Linked DNA regions of Homo sapiens: all the other regions are linked to region 1. The links are contacts of gene promoters, found by promoter capture Hi-C in human tissues and cell types (Jung and others, 2019). All regions are on one chromosome and are shown on one strand. Each heading gives the region's core, a stretch centred on a gene start or on the middle of the fragment in contact. The rest is flanking DNA. Distances are from core to core; before and after follow the strand shown. Region 1 holds the start of UNC80 (unc-80 subunit of NALCN channel complex). Region 2 overlaps MAP2 (microtubule associated protein 2). Region 3 overlaps MAP2 (microtubule associated protein 2).

Region 1 (4,687 bases), core at 1,461-3,960:
CAACTTTTAATAATTTTTTTAAAACTTGGGAAATTGTTTTCTATATTGAGATATATATATATCTATCCCTATCTATTAACGTAACTTTTTGATATTGTGTGACTGCATTAAAAATGCCAAAAATATCTTCGCCAAGAACAGAGAAAGTCAGGATTATTTTAAGCTAGTATAATTGTCAGCATGGTTAAGAAAGTCTGAGATTTCAAGTGTCAAATTACTCTAACAAGCTAAATTCAATGACAAATTCCATTAAAAGGTCCTTATAAGAAAGTTATATTTTAAAAAATGTGTTTGTGACAACATTGAAAGATAGGAGATGCAACAAAACAAATTCCTACGTGAGTGGGCATGTATGTGTTTAACTTTCCAGTTGGCTTCCATCAGAATTTTTTGCCCTAACACATCTCAGAGCTCCTTACCACAAGGTCATCCACATAGCTATTTGTAAATATGCATGGCAATATCCAAATTGGTAGATTTCCATTTTTAGGTTATAATATATGCAATGTAAAGACTTTTAGGTAAGCTCCAAATATTAATGAAGGCTGTGAAAAGTCCATTTCAATTTTGCTTCATGATTTCATGTCTTATTTTCTCAATTTGTGAAACAAGAATTTGTAGGGATATAAGATTCCCTTAGAATCTCAGGACAAATGCATTTTATTTTGTATAAATATTAACAGTATTATTTTCACAATTATTTTATATTATTCATTTTTAGAATTGGAGAACATATGCAAGACATAAAAGTGCAGAAATGCATATATTTTGTTCAAGTAGTTCTTTCACAGGCACTCCATCATATGAACTTCCACTATAAGTCTCAGTTTTGTTGATTAAGGATTCGACTTCACACTTGCAGGTGGCAAAAACACCCTACACCACCTGGTTCCCTGTTATCTCTCTGCCTTCTCTTCTACCACTCGATCCCGCCCCACCCTTTCACTTATTCCCCAGTAGGTGCTAATTTCCTTTAACATGTTTCCTCTGCTCTTCCCTCAGCTGTCCTTCCCTCCCTTCCCCTTGTGTCTTTGGCCAAGGTTCACATTAATGGGTAGATAAGCCTTATCTATCCATTCTTATAAAACTCCCCTCCCTAGTGCTTCCTAGTATTTCTTTTTGCTTAATTTTTCTCCATAGTGCTTACCACCATCTGGCTTACTATGTATTTACTTATTTGTTTGTGGCTTGTCCCCTTTCTACTAGGATGTAAACACTGTATTTGTTTTTATCATTGTTCTATTCCAGCACAGAGAATTGTGCCTGGCACAGAGTGGGTGATCAATAATATTTGCCAAGTGAATTAATATATATAGTCCGTTTGATTTAAAATCTGTCTTTGGGTTCAAACCACCACACAGAATAGGGAAATAATTATTAAATGGTGAAAATCACATACCACACAAGAAGCTTCATATTGCTTCCCCAGTTTGGGCCTCAAAAATGCACTGAAAAATTAATAGAGATATTTGTTAATAAACATAAGTAAAATTATTATTAAAGCATCCTTGTGACGTATTTTTCAATGAATAAGACAGGATGCTATGAAATTCAAATTTCATGCTTCCTTATAGCTTTTTAATGAGCAGGTGTTGAACAGCTGATGACATTTTCTTTTACACGTGTAATTGCATATATGAAAGAGAAGTGGATCTCGATGGTTTTCGGTATCCACTCTTAATCTGAAGACTTCTAAGATTTTAAATCGCCAGTGGTCAGAAGTGGTGCATTACTTACGTGTACAGTCATAATAAAAACTGAAAATTGAACACGGCTTATGGGTCATAATTTCCAGAATCTAATATCTTATCTGATAAATCTCTAAAATAACAATAATAAAGAAAACCTTTTCTGTTTATTGGAATAGGTGTCAGGCCTTTCCGGGGTTGTGGGGGAAGGTCCCTTATCACAAATCCTCAGGAGATTTAACTGGGGAGATTAATCTGAGCAAAACGGTTAACAAGTGGGCATAGCAGATATTCGCCAAACAGGAGCTGGAAAAACAACAGGTCACTGGGCTAGAATTACAGCAGGAGATGGAGGGGGAATTGGACGCAGGAGCACAACCAGTCATAATTATCTAGCTCCCCGCCCCCTCTTCCCAGGCTCTCTGCCCTCCCACCCCCTAAAATAATGTATACATTTATGCGACAACTGCCAATCTGCTTGTCGTCAAACTTCACTGAAATATATACATATATATACATATTTTAATGCGTGTTTTTAAGCTGGTGCAGAGGGCTTGTTTTCCAGCCCCAGAGAGGGAGCTGCAGGCTGTGGCGCGGCCTCAGCGGCGGCGGCGGCAGCGGCGACCCGGGCGGCCCCAGGAGCGCCCCCAGCCCAGGGCGGCCCGCGGTGCGCCCTCTGCGCCCCTCACCTGGTTTGCCGCCACAGGAAGGTCTGGATGGGCAGGGGGATGCCGCGGCCGCCGTCCTGCTCCTGGCCCTCGGAGCTCTTCCTCTTCACCATAATGGTGGCTCCCGGGAGTCCTACTGCAGGACCCAGCTCTGTCTCCTCGCTAGCCGCCGCCGCCGCCTCCTCCCGCTGCTCCCAACTCTCATCCCCTCCTTCCCCGAGGCAGAGCCGGCTCTCTCCGCCCTGATCCCCCGTGCCTCTCCCCTCCCCCCACCCCTCCCCGCGCGTGGAACATGGCTGCGGGAGGAGGGGAGGGCTGGAGGAGCCGCGGAGCGAGGAGGGGGGCGCTCGGAGCAGCGGTCCGCCTCGCCGCCCCCGCACCCGCTCCCTGCTTTCAGCACCTCCCACTGTGGACAGCGGCCCGCGCCGGGCTGCACGGCCGGAGAAGCGAATCCGGGGCAGCTTGAGCCGCAGGGGTACGGCCCAAGAAGTCCACGCTCCGCATCGCAGGCGCTCGTCCCCTGCGCGGCCTCTTCAGCCCCCGGAATTCGGCTTTCCCCGCTCCGAGCTGCACTCAGGAGTGTCCCCTGTCCTGCTTTCCAACCTCAGCATCCAAACTGTCGCCGTCTGGGTAGGAGGAGCTTTGGGGAACCGCAGAGCAGTCGCTAACCCTGGCATCATTCTCACCTCCAGCAAGGAGATCAGGAGTCCAGGGGTTAGCCGGAGGAACACATGAAAATTATTAGAAGTGTAAACCAGGAAGGTGAGGCAAGGTTGGCAAGTGAGAGGAAGCTTGAAAGATCTTAGATATGAGAAGTTATTTTTATATGATAACCACAAGAAATAAACCTTGTTTGTTTTCCTAAAGCAGGAATACAAAGTTCCCAAAGTAACCAGTTGTGGATATCAGTTAATTGCAAATTGAGGAAGAACATTTGAATCATGCTGTGAGGAAATGTGGTTTATTACAGTCCATTAAATGCACTTGGGTGATCCTGTTCGCCCCCAGTGATAGCTACCATTTTCCTTCAGTTGTAATAGTCAAATGCTTATATGTTACATATATTAATATTTTATAGTTGGATTGCTGTTAGATATATTATCTAGGAGTAAAACAAGTAGGCCGGGGAGGGGGGTGAGGTGGGGTGAAGCAATCGGAATAGTAACTACCTGCAATTCCTCCTCCTCCCCCTCCTCCTTCTCCTTCTTCCTCCTCCTCCTCCCCCTTCTCCTCCTCCTCCTCTTCTCCTCCTTCTCCTTCTTTCTTCTTTCTTGTTCTTTGACGGAATCTCGCTCTTCAACCAGGCTGGAGTGCAGACGTGTGATCACGACTCACTGCAGCCTTGACCTCCCAGGCTCAAGAGATCCTCTCAGCTCAGTCTCCCCAACAGTTGGGACTACAGGTGTGCACCACTACTCCCAGCTAATTTTTTATTTTTGTAGAGATGGGGGTCACACTATGTTTCCCAGGCTAGTCTCAAACTCCTGGGCTCAAGCAATCCTTTCACCTTGGCTTCTCAAAGTTCTGGGATTACAGGCATGAGCCACCATGCCTGGCCTCATCTTTTAGAGCAAAGATATTGGTGTAATCCATGAAATGAAGAATCAGACTCCAGGTCCTAATCTCAACAGATGTAATATTTCATATATAATTAACAGCATAGTATATATCAATATTTTTTGCCATAGAAATAAATTCTTCATTTACTTTCTTGAAGTTATCTTTTATTATGAATCTCAAAAATATGGATCTTATGATCTCAAATATGGATCTTGAAACAAAGAAAGATTCTAAGTACAGTTTACTCAAGGCATATTTATTGAGTGTATTTTATATACTCATAGCTCTATGGAGCTATATGGACTCTTGCTCACAAGGAAGTCTGAATATTAAGAGAAGACAGACATGAAAAGAGAAAAGAATCATGGGAGATACGAATGCAGATTCAGTTATGAACAAAAGGTCAAGGCAGAAATTATGTGTAGGAATCAGATGGAGACTTTGTATGACAGGCTAGAAAGTTTTCCTAGAAGGCCTTTAAGCAGAGAAGTAGAAACTTCATATCCATTTAAGTGTGAATGACATGACAGGAATGTAGGGATTATTTGAAACAGGCAAAAGTTGTATTAGGAACCCCAGTATGAAGATTAGAGAAATGTTTTATGAGATCCTGAACCCTGATCATAATAGCAGAACTACAGACAAGGGGGTGAGTTTGAATAATATTGCAGAGGTAGAATTAATAGGATATGATGACCAAGTGGGTATGGGAAAAGAAAAATAGCACATTGGTTAAGAGCTTAGGTCTTGAGCCAGACAGTTTTGGCTCTA
Region 2 (4,687 bases), core at 1,030-3,529, 56 kb after region 1:
CAGCTAATGAACTTTTTCAAATTTGTATATTATAATTTTTTGACATTAAATTTTTTCTTGTTTAAATTTTTAAGAAATTCTAAGGAATAGTGGACGAAGTCATCAAAGAAAGTAATTGTTAAATAGTCTGCTCAGTTATCTGAAAATAACCTCATTAGTTCCTGTGTCTTTGTTTGGCTTGTGAATGAACAGTAGATAAAAAGGCTCAACAAGCCTCAACTTTGCAAACCCAAAGTGGTAATTTTCTCATAATTTTTAAAAATTAGTATTTACTCAACCTAGCTCAAAACCTTTTCATTACTCCACAAAAGACATTTGATTTATAGTTACAAAATTCTATTGCATAAAGACAGAGTCCTGATCTTAAGTAGCTTTCACTCTGATATAATGATGACTTTGATATCAAAAAACAAAACAAAACAAACAAAAGCCTTGTAATAAATTTCTTCATGCTGTGTTGACCAACAGTATTTTTACAAGTTCGTAGGGTATTTTATGAGTCCTCTTATTTAGCCCTTATTGTAGCTCTAAGAAGATGTGAAGAAATGGCTTGGAAAAAAACTTAAAATTAAATAAGGGGAAGACATTAGAGGAGGACAAGAAACAAAACAAAAAACAAAAAACCTCCTTTTTGCCTAGATTGCAGAGACCATGCCTCATTGTCTCCCATTGCCCTTTTGTCATTTAATGCCCAGCAATCTTAGTAAATGTTTGATGAAAGAATAAATATGTGAATGAGAAAAAGATTCATTGCAATCTTTCTCTCTTCATCTTATATGTTATAAATATGCTTACATGTTAATAGCACCCAGTAGACCTTCATAGTGGTAACCATTATAATTTCATATAATGAGGGAAAATTCTGTTTCACTATAATTTATTAGTTGCTTCCAGAATTAATCCATTTTCTTAAATATAAAATTGAAGGTAAACTATGTAATTAGCATTTAAAGGGCCTACAAATAATCCGAGGGTAACAATATGATTTGGATTTGTGTCCCTGCCCAAATCTCAGGTTGAATTGGAGGAGGGACCTGGTGGGAGGAGATTGGAACATGGGGGCAGATTTCCCCCTTGCTGTTCTCAAGACGGTGAGTTCTCATGAGATCTGATGATTTAAAAGTGTGTGGAACTGCTTTCCCTTAAAGCAGGCACCTTCTTCACATGGTGGCAGGAGAGAGAGTGAAAGTTCCTATTCTGCCATGATTTTAAGTTTCCTCAGGCCTCTCAGTCATGCGCCCTGTTAAGCCTGTGGAACTGTGAGTCAATTAAACCTCTTTTCTTCATAAATTTCCCAGTCTTGGGTAGCTCTTTATAGCAATGTGAGAACAGACTAATACAGATAATGCCTAAAACTTTATAAGAATATATTTAAAAAGATTCCACCCTACATTTCACTAATTTTATTCCCTTCTTCCTCCCTCTCTATGTCTCCTTCTTCCCTTATGACACCTTTCTTCTATTTCAGAAACCTGCTCTTTTACTCAATTTCAGCTGGCCCTTGTGGCACAAACATATATGGAATCTATTAGAATACCTAAATGAATGTTTTTTGATGAACTGTAATGCATAACTACTATCATGCTCCAAGTAGTACCATGCATGTGAGAATTTAAAATGATTTAAGAGTCTATTTAAATGAAATGGTGCTATATACAAAAACAAGCATGATTTTGTTGCTTCCATTCTACAAATAAGGACAAAAAAAAAATCAGTACCTAAGGTAATGCAATACTTTAATAGAAGAGCTGGACCACTAACTCAGCTCTTAAATCCTAGTTCAATATTCTTTTAGATCAGGGTGTCCAATCTTTTGGCTTCCCTGGGCCACATTGGAAGAAAAAGAATGGTCTTGAGCCACACATAAAATACACTAAAACTAATCATAGCTGATGAGCTAAAAAAAATCACAAAAAATCTCAAAATGTTTTTAAAAAGTTTATGAATTTGTGTTGGGCCACATTCAAAGTCATCCTGCACCACATGTGGCCCCAAGGGCCATGGGTTGGACAAGCTTGTTTTAGACAAACATGGAAAGTTTCTTTGGATAATAACTGTCATGACATAAAACATTCATAATCATTCAACGGTGTCACTAAAAGAATGCATCTCTCCATGAATATGGCATAATACATTCATTCAATTTTCACTGCATATTTATTGAGCACCTACTATGTATGGGACATTATGGACAAAATGCACCTCATCTCTGACTTTATGGACCTTATGGTCTAGTAAGTGAAACAAGATAGACATTAAATTACTAATTATATAATGGAATATTTAATGAAAAATGTGGTGAGAAAGTTTGGTTACAGTATAGAGAGTACATCAGATAGAGCAAACAACAGATGTAGGGAAACCAAAAATTAATAACAATTGCGACAATATCAGCAAGAGATCATGTATCCTGCGCTAAGGTAGTGCAGAGCAGACTGAGTGAAATGGCCAGATTTAAGAGCTATTCAGGGCACAAAATCAGATGGTTAGGATATGGGATGAGAGAAAGTGAGAGGAAAAGTCAACACTTAGATTTTTGGTTTAGCAATATGAAAGTCCTGTTATTTGAATAGATGTAATAATACTAAAAATAATAATGTAATAATAGCATAAACTTTCTATACTCAAAGATGTATGTGGCATCAGTCACACTGATGTACTTGCTGTTCCTAGAACATGTTAGGCCTGCTTCTACCTCAGGGTCTTTGGATGTGTGGTTCCCTTTGCCTGAAAGGCTCATTACCTAGTTATCCAAATGGCTTACTTCTTTACTTCCTTGGAGCTTCTATTCAAATATCACCTTCTCGGGACTTTCCTAGCCATCTTATCAGAAATGCAATTTCCTCTTAACATATCCTGAGCCTCTTTCTTATCTTTATTTTTCTCCATACTTAGCACTTTTTTACATATTTTTCTTATATCACTTTTTTTTTTGCTCACCTTTCCTCCTAGAATGTAAATTCCATGATGGCAAGAATTTAAGAAATCTATGTCTATTTTGTTTGTTGTTATATTTCAGTATGTAGAACATAGCATGGTGTAGTAGGTGCTCAATAAATATTTGTTGACTCAATGGTCAAGTAAAGAAAGGTAAAACTTTGTATTTCTGGAATTATCAAAGTAATAGGAGACAACTCCCCATGTTATTTTTAAGATGCCAAGATTGATGCTATAATATTTCATAATTGATTCTTTATATTATCCTTAGAAATTAAAAAGCTAACTAGCTTCTATTTTAAAACCTTAATTTTTAGAATTATTTAAAAAATAACTGTCAATTATAGGAGAAAACAAAAAATATGATAAAATGCAACATACCTTTCCAAATTTAATGTAGTATATTAATATAACATGTATTTTAATAGTGTATCAATATAACATGCTATTTGCATTAAATTATTTCATGAAAATATAATAAAAGTTTAGAAGCTTCAAATTTCAATCCTGACGTGGTAAAAAAAACTTTGGCATGGAAAACACTGCTAAATAAAATTACCATTTATTTTCATGTTATGAAATGAAAGGTAAGGCAAACAAAGAAGACTAAGGTATACAAAATTACATACTTGCAGATAAGTGACTAATTATTCATTAAAGACAAAGTATAGACTCTGACTTCACAGCTCAGCCATGGAAGGATGATATTTAATGTCCTATATGCAAGATGCAGGTAATGTGAGAACTTCTGTTTCTTACTCTGTGAAAATGTGAGGGTTGGATTAGAAGGAGATGGATATCTCTGACATCTAATATCCTTTAGTTTAATAGATCCATATAGAACTGAGATATAGAAACTAAGATTGCTTTATTTCTAGAATGTAATGATATGTTTTACAGGTTCTAGTTTAATAGATTTATCTAAATAAAAATTTTACAAAGATGACAGACCAATGCTGATTGGGAAAGCAATATGCTGACAAATTTTACAAAGTTCTTTATTTAAAAAGTGAGTACTGTTTTTTCTTCAAAAAGGAGTGACTTGCATGATGATGCCACCATCTGTAGCCTAGCTAACCTGAAAATGACTGACTGTAGTCATTAATGGAGCAAAAGCACATAATTCAGAGGCAATCAATCAGATCCACAGACATGGCCTTGCAGAGATTATGCTCTAACTGACTATCCTATCCAATGAGCAGTTAATGAAAACAACATCTGTGAAACCACTTCTTTAGTAACTTTCAATTATTACAAGCGCATATAACTTGTGCTTTTAAAATTTTATTTATTTATTTATTTATTGAGACAGAGTTTCATTCTTGTTGCCCAGGTTGGAGTGCAATGGCGTGGTCTTGGCTCACTGCAACCTCTGCCTCCTGGGTTCAAGCAATTCTCCTGCCTCAGCCTCCCAAGTAGCTGGGATTACTGGTGCCCACCACCACGCCTGGCTATTTTCTTTTTTTTTTGTACTTTTAGTAGGGACGGGGTTTCACCATGTTGGCCAGGCTGGTCTCGAACTCCTGACCTCAGGTGATCCACCCGCTGCCTTGGCCTCCCAAAGTGCTGGGATTACAGGCATGAGCCACCACACCTGGCCAACTTGTGCTTTTTATACTCATCTTCATAAAGCCAATGGAGAAAAACAAGATATCTGTCAAAACATATAGGAGCATTCCATATAAATCCAAGTAACTATTTTAAAACCTGATTATTAGATAGAAAAGGCAAAAAGCACTATTCCTTGAGT
Region 3 (4,687 bases), core at 1,430-3,929, 38 kb after region 1:
AATTAAATAACATGTATATTGCCTGAAGATCAGCCTTGGGTTCAAGAACATTGGCTTGTCTAGGCTAGAGCGTTTCCTAGCTATGCCTTTCTTTGTTCCTAAAAGGAATAGGCAAGTATCCTATATGTTCAGTCCTACAGAGTAAGACAATAGTTTTTGTCATTTCTCACTTGACAATGAGATCTTTATCATAGGTGGCACGACAAGGAAACAAACTCCACTGCAGTTTTTTTTCCCTTGATTTAGCAATAAGTATAAGGGGTGTGCAGAAACTTAAATATGTTTATCATGGACATTAACAGTTGCTGCTATGAAATAAATGTGCTTCTTAAAGGTCTTTTTCCCCCTGCTTTTTTTTTTTTTTGAGACAGGACAAAAGCTATAAATATTGGTGTTCCCAGTTCTCTGTCACCCTGAGGATTCTAATCTAACCTCCCTAACTCCCTGGCTCTAGGATTAGGGGCTCTAGGATTTTGGACTTTTGTTTTATAGGATGAGGAAAATATTGGCGAGAAAGACAAGTGTGCCTAGGTCAAGGGTTACAAACTCTAAATCTGTAGTTTAATGCTTATCGTAATGAGTGAAAGCAGAGGGGTGGGAGAAAATAATAAGCCTAGCTGGGCATGGTGGCCAAGTCAAGGGAATAAACCCCATCTCAGAGGTACCCATGGACAGCTCTGGTCAATGGTCACCAAGAGCGAAGATCCAAATCTGGGATGTGTGTGTGTGCATGTGAAGTTTCTGAAATTTGAAAACAGTTTGCAGGCCAAATAAAGCCTATCTGGAGGCCACAGGTTTATTACCTCAACTGAGGCCTGGGACAGAGATTGTCTTGGAATTTAAGGGAGTAGAAGTGGAAACAGCTGAGGCATATTTGTGAGGGAAAGGCATGAGAGGTGGAAAAAGGGCTTTAAAGAGTGTGTCCATGATGCTGCTTTATCATGCTCAAGAAAGTCGAGTGAAGGGCTTAATATTTTGAAACAATTTTAGGTTGCTAGACTGTATACTTTTGACAATTTTCTAGCCCTAAATTCTTGAAGTCTCAGGTCTACAAGGAAGTGCCACATCATAAACAAGAAGAGGAACATTTATCTTTCTGTAAGTTACACTGAATGTTATCCTGTCATCCTCCATTATTTACGGTTGTCTCTTGTCAAGGCAAATAAACCTTTCCTTGCCTTGTTAACAAATAAAAAAGAAAATCAACAATTTTATGGTGATTCATGCTACTGGACAAATTTAATCCTCATGGTTTGAAGACTCTGAAGGACAACATGTGTGCTGATTTTAAGGAATTATTAGAGATACACTAATAATTCTTGCTAGGTTCTACAAAATCTGCATTATTAGCAAAAGGAGACTGAATGAGAAGTGATGCCATTAATAAGAGAAGTAGGTTTTAGCCAAGTTAAAATAGTCTGAGGGCTGGAAAACCTCTAATACACACATAAGTATTTCTTTTACCAGTCACAGCTTTCTATGCCTTGGTTCCTAGTTTGACATCAGAGGTAGGGATGCTGTCTCAAATAGTCTTTGGGATAACTTTTATCCATTAGAGACCTGCAACGGAGCTCTTTCTCCTTAAACACATTAGCAGGGACTGAATGAGCTTAGTGTTTCTCAAATTTTTGAGTGCAGATGAATCACCTGGAGGAATGTTAGTTAGTTAGTCTGGGGTGGAGTCCAGAAATTTGTATTTCTATCAAGCTCCCTGGTGAAGCCTGAGCATAATCTGAGCTGTAAGGAGCTAAAAGATGAACAGGGGTGCAGCTATACCACGTATTTGTTTTTGTGGCCTGTACAGTATCAATTCCTCTCTTCTGGCAGGAGTAGCCTGAATTAACTTTGGGGGAAACGTTTCCTCTCCACGATTAGCTCAGGTAGTATGGAGGAGAATAAAGCCACTTCTCCCCTTATTCTCCTTCTACTCCAACCACCTGTGACAGAGTTGGGTACGTGAGCCAATCCTGGTCAATTAGCATAAGTAGGCAGGAGATCCAAGTATTAATCGTTCAGTGATTTTCAGACCCTGGATTTGAGCTACTGTAAAGGGGCTTTCTTTGATAGGTTGTGAAATCTGGAGCTTCTGGTGCCCATCACGGAAGGGGTGCCTGCCTGAGAAGGAAGCCAACACAGAGGATGCAAAACTAAAAGTTGGAAAAGGGAAGATTCCTGATGACGTCGTTTGAGGGCCTGGACCCAGCCATGCCTGAGGCAGATACACCTGAGTAGTCAGTTACTTGAGCCTACAAATTCACCTTTACGTTTAAGCCCGTTTAATTAGAATTTTTGTCACTTGCAAAAGATAGCATCCTGCTAATACAGTAGTGATAAAAATAAATTTCCTTATTAATTGAGCTAATATAAAATCATTTAGTATAGAGCCTGACACATAATAGAAACTCAGCCATAATAATAGCCTTGTTTTCACAATTTTTCTTTGGTTGTATTACACACATGCACACACACACGCACTATATCACTATATATATATATAAAATTTTTTTTCCAGAGGAGAAGCAATTAAACAGTCTGAAACCAAAACTAGCAGTTAGGTGACAAGCAATTTTATTTTGCAAAACAATCACTATACAGCAACAAATACATTTGCAAATTTGATTGAAAAACATGAACTAACTACAACCAGCCATTGAAGAAATGCCTTTCTATGGTAACAGGCTCTAGAATTATCAGAAGAAAGAAACCCCCCACAGATTTGTAACAGTGTGTTGGAACCTCGGAATCCCAGCATACAGAGTATACTTTTTGTTGATTTTTTTTTCTTTTTGCTAAAGTTGAAGTAGATTTTTATGATTGACATTTTATTTTCTGAGTTTGAAAATAAGCTTTTTCCTGCAGAGAGTCTTGGCCTTCACCTACACACCCAAGCTAAAAATCCTAGGTGTAAAAAAACTCAAAACATCAATGCTTATTTTAGCACGTCAATCTTTGAAGGAATGCTTAAAATTTCCTTACCAAGCCATGAATCTACTTTATCTCTAGTATTTAGACCATGAGTAGTTTATTTTCCTTATTGTGGCTTGAAAAATAGAAGAAAACTGTAATTGCAGCTATGTCAAAATCAACCACATTCAGGTTATTTCCTTAATAAAATACTGATGGAATGTTATATATTGGCTGATTATTCCACGCTTGCTGTATTACTGTAGGTGTGTGTGTGTGTGTGTGTGTGTGTGTGTGTGGAGAAGGTCACTACAATCAGTACATTCTTCCATTTAATGGCATTCTCTCTTCAGCCTTCTCCAGCCGTACCTAGCTGGTGTTACACAGGTGTCATACTTGTAGGTGGGATGTCAGCCCATCACGCTGCTGGAACTCAGCAGGTAAATCCAGAGAGAGTTGGTTCCTAAATGAACGTGGCCTTTGAAACTCATCATGAACTCGGGTCTTTCCTGCATCATTATGAGGTATCCAATTTCTGGTTGCAAGTGACCCAGAGGTTGAGTTCACTGGAGAAGTTGGCCTTTAAACTCTTCACAGCTCTGGATTACTTACGTATTCTTATACAGGTTCTCAAAGGCTAAAGCCAGAGAGAAACTGGCATAGTAGATCTAGAATTGAGACCACGAAGATTTCATTCCTAGATCAGCGTATGTGTGTCCCCACAAGAGTGGTGCTCAAAAAGCTTAATTTGAGTCGTTATCTTGAGAGTGAAGGCAAGATAGGTTCTACCCCTTAACCCCACAAGAAGATATTTAACCTGTGTGTTTCTCTCTTTTACTGGTACAAACGATCAGTTCCTTTCTGTTAACTTTAATAAAGAATTGTATTTCCATACAAAGCAAGAACATTTATTCATTATAATTTTGTTGTGATTAGAAATAAACATTTGTTTTAATGCCAAATCTAGTAGTTTGGTGCCTTGTATAATCTTTATTTTTGACATGTATTTGTAATAAACTGACTTCTAGTATGCAGAATGTTTACCTAGTGTTAACTTATATAAAAACTTTAAAGAATGTTGAGAAAAATACTTATTTCACAGGTTAAAACTTTTCTAATGAGCTGTTAACTTCTTTCTAGAGAAATTTAATCACTATTTAAGACTATGAAAACATGTAATAAAATACCCTAAGTCTCCACACACCTTTCTTCTATTTTCTGGTGCACTTCAAGGGAAGCTGATGAATAAATTGCCCAGATTGGTCAAATCAAACCTCACAGCAATTAATAGGCAGAAAATAGATATAATGATCCTAAGGTTTCTAAGGTTTTGACTGTCATATAAAATAACTGATTTATAGATGGTTTAAGACACGTTTGCCTGTGTAAAATCTCTTAGCTGAGAATGAGTGGTGTGGGTTTGCTCCTAGGGTTTCTTGTATGGCAGTTACACTGGTTGCCATATCCACTGGGTCACCAAAAAGCACCTGTGTCTCTGCCTTTGCATCCCTTGGCTTTTGTCTTGGATGTTTCTATACTTCCCCGTTGCCTCAGTACATCCTCATCATTTCCTCCTTTATATTCAGGAACTGATTTGGCTCAAAGAGATCATACGCCTAGTGGACCATTTGATTTTAATGGTTCAGATCCAACCTACCAGCCCTGAGCAAGAAAAAGAACAGATAAAATTTTTAAAAAGTGTCCATCTAGCCTGGTAGCTCTTTGCCTTAATCAGGCCATTGACTATTTCATTCCTTATTTGTAAGTCTAAGATGAATGATTT

The links. The method cuts DNA at HindIII sites, captures the fragments that hold promoters and counts their contacts. A contact is called where the count stands out against the background at its distance.
Region 2: a contact is called between a fragment that was not itself captured here and the fragment with the promoter of UNC80 in region 1, in 1 of the 25 tissues and cell types used here (dorsolateral prefrontal cortex).
Region 3: a fragment that was not itself captured here is called in contact with the fragment with the promoter of UNC80 in region 1 in 1 of the 25 tissues and cell types used here (hippocampus).

The regions. Positions count from the first base shown.
Region 1 is chr2:209,769,855-209,774,541 of GRCh38, reverse strand. UNC80 (unc-80 subunit of NALCN channel complex) reads right to left here and starts at 2,710. Exons shown (of 65, transcript NM_001371986.1): 1 at 2,378-2,710; 2 at 1,400-1,448. The coding sequence starts at 2,469. RefSeq lists an enhancer at 650-1,151. The HindIII fragment of the contact is 3,928 bases long and covers 176-4,103 here.
Region 2 is chr2:209,713,757-209,718,443 of GRCh38, reverse strand. The region is part of intron 13 of MAP2 (microtubule associated protein 2); the gene reads right to left. Among named protein-coding and RNA genes, the nearest start is that of UNC80, 56 kb to the left of the region's middle. The HindIII fragment of the contact is 6,443 bases long and covers 1-4,687 here.
Region 3 is chr2:209,731,977-209,736,663 of GRCh38, reverse strand. It overlaps MAP2 (microtubule associated protein 2), which reads right to left. Exons shown (of 16, transcript NM_001375505.1): 16 at 2,552-4,687. Among named protein-coding and RNA genes, the nearest start is that of UNC80, 38 kb to the left of the region's middle. The HindIII fragment of the contact is 5,614 bases long and covers 1-4,687 here.